Regions from separate parts of the Homo sapiens genome. Here region 1 is linked to region 2. The links are contacts of gene promoters, found by promoter capture Hi-C in human tissues and cell types (Jung and others, 2019). All regions are on one chromosome and are shown on one strand. The core of a region is centred on a gene start or on the middle of the fragment in contact, and the rest is flanking DNA. Distances in the headings are between cores, read along the strand shown.

Region 1 (4,101 bases), core at 1,418-3,917, 1.0 Mb before region 2:
TCACACTCTGTCCCGGATGCCCAGCTGTGGAGTTGCAAGGGAAGAGAACACAGACGGCGGCTCCGGGAACCCTGGGCGTGGAGGGTGGCTGGGACTTGGACTAGGCACAAAAGGGTCCCCTGCTCATGGAACAAGGAATTCAGCCAAGTTAGCAGTAGGGACACTGATAGGACAGAAGAAAGTAGTGGGTGGTTTTCTCATCCCACTGCTAAGTGCCTGGGCCAGCCAGGGAGTCTGCTCAGGCAGGGATGGGGTAAGCCTAGGCTGGCAGAGGGTCCAGCCTCTGATCAGGGTTGGGGTGCACAACTGGTCCACTGCAGCGTGAGACATCCAGTGGCGGCCCCTGGCCAAGATGCTGAGACTGAGAAGTGCAGCTCCATCACGGCAGGCCATCTGGGAAGGAGGCTGCTCCAGAGTGCAGGCAGCAGCAGCGTGTGCATGTTCCCCAGGGACACCCAGAGAGTAGGCTGGTTGCCTGGGATGCCAGTCTGTTGGTGCCAGGATTATACTATACCTGAGTGTGCTCACAACCTGGCAGCGGGACATGCTGAGAAAGGAAGTGCTCTGGGCTTGGAGACAGAACTTGGGTTCAGTGCTGGCTCTAACTTTATAGTCCAGGTAAATTTCGCAACCTTGTTTGGCTTTCAGTTTCCTTATCTATAACATGGGCAAAACAATAGGTATTTCAGAGGTTCACTGGGAGAAGGGCAGAAGTGTGTGTGACAGCAGGTTTATAAACTGTAAGCACTGTGCACGTGGATGGTGTTTGCCTCATTGTCACTCCTCTCTAGGGAGAACACGGCCGCAGACGGCCACCCACTCCTGAGCGGGGCTCCCAGAGCCATCCGTGTCCACAGGGCCTAGCACTCTGACTCTTCCCTTTACCGTTTCTGGGTTGATTCCAGCCATTGCCATCTCTTGGGCCACTTCAGCTGCTCCTGTCTTTATTCCACTTAAGCTTTCTCTTGACTGTTGAGCCTTTTGGTGGACAGAGCCCTGCACAAGCTGTGATTGAGCCCAAGACACAGGGTCTTGAAAGCAGAGATTGATGCACCTGGTTCTTGAGTACAGGTGTGGGTGCTGACCTGTATAGCTTCCCTCTTCACCAGGTGTGCATTTGCTTACAGGGTTTTCTTTGGAAACCCTAAAGCCATAACCTGGGCTTGGCATGGATAGTACCTTGCATCTCCTTTCTCCTTCCTGCAGATGCACAGATTCTTGGCAGCAAGAGTGAGGGGCTGTTGCTTATGTCCACTTGGAGAGCCGGGAGGGGAAGGAGGTGCTGGTTCTGCCCAAGACGGTAGTGGTGGGTGTCAGTTTCCACCACAAGTGACCAGCCTTTAGGGTGAGCACCTGGAAGGAACCCTGCAGGGCCCCACTTAGGTATGCCCTGCCCAGAGGGCCCAGCACAGGGAGGCAGAGCGCCCTGTGGCTGCCAGTGACACTGGTCTGGCATCTGAATTAGTAACTCACAGTAGGATTAATTTCTCTGTGTAATTAAGTAAAGGAAAATGGCATGAAAGTACTGCCTGTCTCTTCCACACAGGGCTTTGTTTTCTATCCTGTGATTACAAGGGAAGTCCATTTGACTTAATTAACTTAGAAAGTATCTAGCAGACCCATTCATCTGGAGCTGGCCTCCTATCTGCCTTTGGACAGATGCATCACAAACTCCTACCAGGTGTGTGACATTTGCTGCACTCTGGGTCTGCAAATGTAAATAGCACACGGCCCCTGCTCTGTGGAATTGCCTAGCCCTGTCCAGCTCTGCACAGTAGATAAACATGAAATCAGTAATTACAATCCAGTATGCTGAGGGTAGTAATGAAGAAATGAGGTGCAGGAGCCAGACTTCCTGGGTTCAAATCCCGCCACTTGGGCAAGTCCCTGAATCTCTGGCTTCAGTTTTCTTCATCTGTAAAATGGGGATGATGATAAGATTTCAGAGGGGAGGATGCAGATTAAATGAGCCAACATGTGTCAGTGCCTAGAAAAGCACCTCGCACTGTAGAGGACATGGTTGGTAACTGTTGGCTCTGTTTATCAAATCAGAGAGGTGGATCGATCACTACGAGGGTGCAGAGGAAGGAGGAACTACCTCTGGGGTGCCAACAGGCTAGTTGAGCTGGGTATTGAAGTAGGAATGAGTGTGTGGAAGATGACCAGTTAACAATGCAAGAGCAAGGAGGCCTGAAGGGCATTGCATGCTGGTGAACATGAGTATTTTAGTACAGCTGAAACTGAAAAGGTACAGAAAGTGGAGGTAGGCATTGAAGAGCCAATGGGGCATTTCAGTGAGGGGTATGGTATGATGAGAATTGTGTTTTTGAAAGTTAATTCTAATAATGATGGAAACAGAGTCTGATTAGCAGGCTACTACAGTCAGCCTGAAGAGATCCTGAGGGGACCTGGTGGAGAGCCGGCATCCTGGAATGGGCAGATGGGACTTGGAGAGAGTAATTTGAACGTGGAGCTTGTGGATGGGATGTGGAAGTGGAGGTGAGGAGCAGGGGTTGAAAGGAGGTCGCCAGGGTTGTGGCATGAATTACTAAGTGAATGGGGTGCTGGTCACAAAGCAGGAGAGCAGGTTGGGCAGGCAGCAGGTGGGTGAGGTTTGGCATGCTGGGCGCAGTCTTTCCTCCCCTAGAGTTGGACATCTAGGGATTGGCTCAGGACAGTGGCTGGACTGGAAGTAAGAATCGGAAGTCATGTGAGTGAGGCCATGGTTGGTTGTGAGGCATCAGATGGGTTCCCTTAGGCTCCCCCTAGTCCTTGGGGTGGCTTTGTTGAACAGAAAAACGTCCCCTCAAGGTGGCTGCAGCTCTGCAGGCTCGTGACTTGGCCATCAGCTCCTTTCACCTTGTACATACATCACCTTGGGACCTCAGGCAATGGCTGCTTTCTTTGGGTTGACTCATCAGTGTCTTTATGAAAGACAGTAATATCAACCCTATTCATAGGGTTATTGAGAAGACTGAAGGACTGAAGGCCTGTGAAAGGGTTTCTTATCTCATCCAGACATTATGGTCTTTGCCCATTTCAGGAAATGTTGGCCATGCTGAGATCTACGGGCTGCAAGGGAAGCTTCCATGCTCAGGGCTGTACTGCAGCTCAGAGAAGAGCTTTTATGGGGGCATTTGTCCTTGCAGGGTTTACAGAGAACAGGCAAGAAGTAGGCGGTGGTTCAAACAGAGGTGGAGAGAGAGGTGGCACCTTCCTTCAGAGAACTACACACAATCAGGAGAAATCCCAGCTCCCATCTCCAAGCTATACTACTGATGTCATTTCTTCCCAGACCCTAAAGGCATGCTCAGGTGCTTGTAGGTGAGCATATATGAACTAGCAATGTGGCTCCAGGTAACTGGGAGATTTCTGAATACAGAGAGAAAAGGGATTGAGTTATGACCTTAGGGGATGGAAGACGGGAGGAGGCTATTTTATCTTTGTACTCAGCATTAACTTGACAGCAAATCCTGTTTATGAAGGAACCACCTGATGACCATTTCATTATAATCCCTGCAATGGCAGTGATTTGATTTCTTTGTGCTGTGTTAGATCCTGTGTCTACCGGAGAGGCCAGGGAAGGTGGGCATAGAAGCAGTCCAATACTAGGTCCCATGTGGTAGCTTAAAATCCTCATCACCACCAGGAGGAACATGAACATTCCCAGAATAACTTCTGCTGCTCTTGATTCCAGAAGTAAAAGTATGTTTGGTATTTGTCTGCTAACGTGTGACATGCTCACCTGCTGAGCTTTCTGTACTTGGACTCAAAGGAGTAGCCAGAAAGGGATCTCAATGAGGAGTGCATGTTTTCTATTTTCAGTCTGTATAAATATCACATTGCTCCTCCTCAGACTCAAATTCAAGCCAGAGTTGCATTCTTATTTGGCCTCACTGGTCTTTAAGAAAGAGCCTGATTACCATGTCTGCACTGGGAGGCACATGCCCAAAATGCTAGCATTGCATCAGACGGCATTCATAATGATGGCCAGTGCTTATCCCAAATGTATGAGCCGGATGCTGCACTGTGCTTTATGCACAGTATTTCATTTTATTCTCACAATGACTCTTTGAGGTGGATACTCTAATCTTTGCCATT
Region 2 (4,131 bases), core at 740-3,239:
CTTTTTGAACAACAAGCTCTCATGCAAACTAAAAGAGTGAGAACTCACTCGTTACTGAAGAATGGCACCAAGCCATGCATGAGGGATCTGCCCCCATGACCCACACACTTCCCACTAGGCCCCACCTCCAACATTGGGGATCAATTTCAACTTCAGATTTGGAGGAATTATCCCAACTATATCAGGAGGTCATCTTGAAACTTCCAGCCCTGCTGTCTCTCCATCAGAATCCAACTGCGGAGGAACTGCCCAGCTAACCCTCAGAATCATAAGAAATAATAAATCTTAGCTGTTTTAAACCACTGAGTTTTGGAGTGAATTATGCAGCAAAAGCTGAAACCGATGGTGTCCTGCATGTCCCATAGAACTACATATAACCATTTCCCCACCTTATTCAATCTTTATTAAGGCTACTTTGGTTGCAAACATCAGAAACCAACCCCAGCCAGCTTAAACAAAAGGAAAGTGCATTAGAATGTCCCTAATGTAAGTCAAGGAACAGAAAATAAAGTTGGGAAGGGGAGAAATCATGGCGTCCGCGGACTCATTAGCAGCAGGGTATCCTGGAGTTTCCGTCCAGAAAACTGCCATTAACACAATCCCGTGCTAATGATTGGACTAGTAACTTCAAGTTTTCAGAGCAGACGGTCTGACCCGCCCCATTTGGGCCAGTAGCCGCCTCTGAATCATTTAGCTATGATGAGGTGGGCGGTGGTGGTGGGAGGCAGGATGCGGACACGTAGAAAGTAGGTGAATTCGTGGGAATCCTGACGTGGAAGCCGTGAGCGCTACTCACGGCCTGGGCTTGCTTTTTAACTGCTATATATATATTTAGATTTTCCAAAAGTTTTTTCCTTTCAAATCTTTTTGCAGCTACTGTATCAAGGCTCTTTTTTTAAGAAAGGGAAAATAGTGCAGGACCACTTCTGAAACTGTAACAAATGGGGCAACGTTGTATTCTTCTGTACAATGTAACTGGATCTGTGAAGGTTTTTATTTTTTATTTTTTATTTTTTTTGAGACGGAGTCTTGCTCTGTCGCCCAGGCTGGAGTGCAGTGGCGCAATCTAGGCTCACTGCAAGCTCCGCCTCCCGGGTTCACGCCATTCTCCTGCCTCAGGCTCCCGAGTAGCTGGGACTACAGCCGTTCACCACCACGCCGGGCTAATTCTTTTTATTTTTATTTTTTTAGTAGAGATGGGGTTTCACTGTGTTAGCCAGGATGGTCTCGATCTCCTGACCTCGTGAGCCACCCGCCTCGGCCTCCCAAAATGCTGGGATTACAGGCGTGAGCCACAGCGCTCAGCCGGATCTGTGGAGGTTTTATGAGCAAAAAGGGAAAACAGTGCGGGGCCACTTTTGAAACTGTAACAAATGGGGCAACGTTGTATACTTCTGCACAAAGTAACTGGATCTGTGAAGGTTTTATGTGTAAAAAGGGAAAAGAGTGTGGGGCCACTTTTGAAACTGTAACAAATGGGACAACTTTGTATACTTCTGCACAACGTAAGTTAATCTGTCAAGCTTTTATGTGCAAACGAATCTCTGAGCGAGTGAAATGGTTTTGATCAAAATCTAAAAGAATTTGGGGAGTGTAGATATAAAAGGGAGTTAAAGCCAGAGTAACAGGTGTTGTGAACACAGAGAGGAAGAACCGGTAGGTTTCGAGTGAGGACAGAGAGTGTCGCCCCCGGCCGCAGCCTGGGGGGGCTGCATATCTGGAGGGATCATCTCTTGCCCCTAACTGACGACTCCTGCAGAGTGACGCGTGCCTGGGACAGCGTCTGCTGGGACCAGGGTGGACGGGCACCTCAAATAAGTGGGCCAGGGACCTGGGCCTGGGCCCCTCGGACTGGCAGGCACGCCCGCACCCCCGCGCCTCGCGCTCTCTACGGAAGCAGCCGCCCCCACGGAGCGGGCGGAGGCCCGGGGGCCGGGAGCGCGCGTGGAGGCTCCGGGACTGAGGCGGCGCCACCGCCTCCCGCCTGCAGCTGGAGCGCGGGCCGCCGCGGCGACATCTTGCTCAGGAGGAAAGCGCGCGGGAGAGCGAGCTGCGCTTTAGCTGCTGCGCCACGCGCGCCTCGGGCCTGGGCGCAGAGGATCGGCCGGGCGCGGCGGGAAGGAGGTAAGGCAGCCCCGCGGGACCGCACGCCTAGCTCAGGGGACGCCTCCGGAGACCCCAGGACCACCCGATCACGGGCCCCGCCGCTCCCCTCCCTCGCTCCTCCTCCCGCTCAGCCCCAGTCTCCTGCGGTCCCCTCGCCCCAGCCCGCAGCCTCCCTGCCTTCCGCCCACTGAGCAGCCCTCCTCGGCGGCGCGCCCCTCGACCCCAGCAGCCCCGGTCCCCGCCTCTGCTCTTGGTCCCGGCCGCCGGGTGAGGCCGCCCCCGCCCCGCCCCCTCCCCGCCCTCGCCGGGACCCGCCCCCTGCTCCCGTCCGGGCGGGGCTCCGGGTTTAAACGTCGCGGCGGGCAGGGCCGGCGGAGGGGCGGGGCGGCCTCTGTGTCGTGTACCGGGTCCCGTAGGCTGCGGGCAGCGAGGAGCGGCTGGCGCTCGAGGCGGCGGACGGCACCATGTCCCCGGGGAGCGGGGTGAAGAGCGAGTACATGAAGCGCTACCAGGAGCCGCGCTGGGAGGAGTACGGGCCGTGCTACCGCGAGCTGCTGCACTACCGCCTAGGCCGCCGGCTGCTGGAGCAGGCGCACGCGCCCTGGCTCTGGGACGACTGGGGCCCGGCCGGCTCCTCGGAGGACTCGGCGTCGTCAGAGTCGTCGGGCGCCGGGGGCCCCGCACCCCGGTGCGCCCCGCCCTCGCCCCCGCCGCCCGTAGAGCCGGCGACCCAGGAGGAGGCGGAACGGCGGGCGCGCGGGGCCCCGGAGGAGCAGGACGCGGAGGCCGGGGACGCGGAGGCCGAGGACGCGGAGGACGCGGCTCTGCCAGGTACCCGGCCCGGAGGGGAGCGCGAGGGGCCTGCACGCAGGGACGGTTTGCTCTAAGCTCTGAGCAGCTGATCTCTTATTTCTTGCGCCACTCGGGGCTGGCTCTTCCTTTTTTTTTTTTCGGTTGACAGAATCCGTCTCTCTTGACAAAATAGGGAAGGTGGCAGCCTTTGCCACCCTTTATTTCCTTAATTAGGTGGCTTTCGGTCGAGCCAGCGGTGAACTCAATTGAAGCGCCGCTGGCTGAGTCTGGGGTCTTTCCTCGCGGGCCTCTGCGGCTTGGCAAACCTCTGAATCCCATCTTATTTCTTGGCGAACCACTGAGTCCCATCTGCTTATTTCTAGGCGCCCATTTTTGATCAGAGGAGCCCCAGCTTTAATCAGATTCTCAAAGGTAACCCAAAAGGTTAAGAACCACAGAGCTAAGCTTTGTCTGATGAATGGGGCCATTGTTTTCCGTATTAACTCCCCGACCTCGCTACGCTGTCCCTAAAGAATATTTTGCATTTGTTTACGTGGAGTGTTGAATAACTTGGCTGTGAGAGCATCTTTATAAGTGCTAGGGCCTCTCCCCTTCCGTCCCTCCCCATCCTCCCTCGCCTGTCCAGATCCGAAAGCGCCGGTGGCGCTGCGCGTGTTTTCAAGGCATGGCCCCTTCACCTTCTTTCCTGCCCAGAGGCTTGCAGGGCTGGGGACCCAGTTGAACGCCTCAGTACAGCCTGGAGTAACCAATGGTTCCTTCCAGATCACTGGATTTTAAAAAGGCTCGAGTGAGGAAAACATGGAAAATGTATTGGGAGCCTGTTAGACATTCAGTCACTGATCTGGGAATATGTATGTTGTCATTTAATATTCAAAACAATCCCAAAAGAGACCATGTTGTAATCTTTTTTTTTTTTTTTTTTTGAGACGGAGTCTCGCTCTGTGGCCCAGGCTGGAGCGCAGTGGCGCGATCTCGGCTCACTGCAACCTCTGCCTCCCGGATTCACGTCATTCTCCTGCCTCAGCCTCCCGAGTAGCTGGGATTACAGGCACGCGCCACCACGCCCGGCTAATTTTTGTATTTTTAGTGGAGACGGGGTTTCACCATGTTGGTCAGGCTGGTCTCAAACTCCTCACCTCGTGATCCGCCCGCCTCGGCCTCCCAAAGTGTTGGGATTACAGGAGTGAGCCACCATGCCCGGCCCTAATCTCA

Evidence for each region. Contacts are between HindIII fragments. The study calls those that stand out against the background at their distance.
Region 1: a fragment that was not itself captured here is called in contact with the fragment with the promoter of CCSAP in region 2 in 1 of the 25 tissues and cell types used here (hippocampus).

Annotation. Positions count from the first base shown.
Region 1 is chr1:230,377,693-230,381,793 of GRCh38, reverse strand. The region is part of intron 1 of PGBD5 (piggyBac transposable element derived 5); the gene reads left to right. Among named protein-coding and RNA genes, the nearest start is that of PGBD5, 47 kb to the left of the region's middle. The HindIII fragment of the contact is 4,664 bases long and covers 336-4,101 here.
Region 2 is chr1:229,340,905-229,345,035 of GRCh38, reverse strand. CCSAP (centriole, cilia and spindle associated protein) reads left to right here and starts at 1,989. Exons shown (of 4, transcript NM_145257.5): 1 at 1,989-2,124; 2 at 2,523-2,937. The coding sequence starts at 2,571. RefSeq lists silencers at 540-834, 1,681-2,540, 2,741-2,940. The HindIII fragment of the contact is 5,214 bases long and covers 1-4,131 here.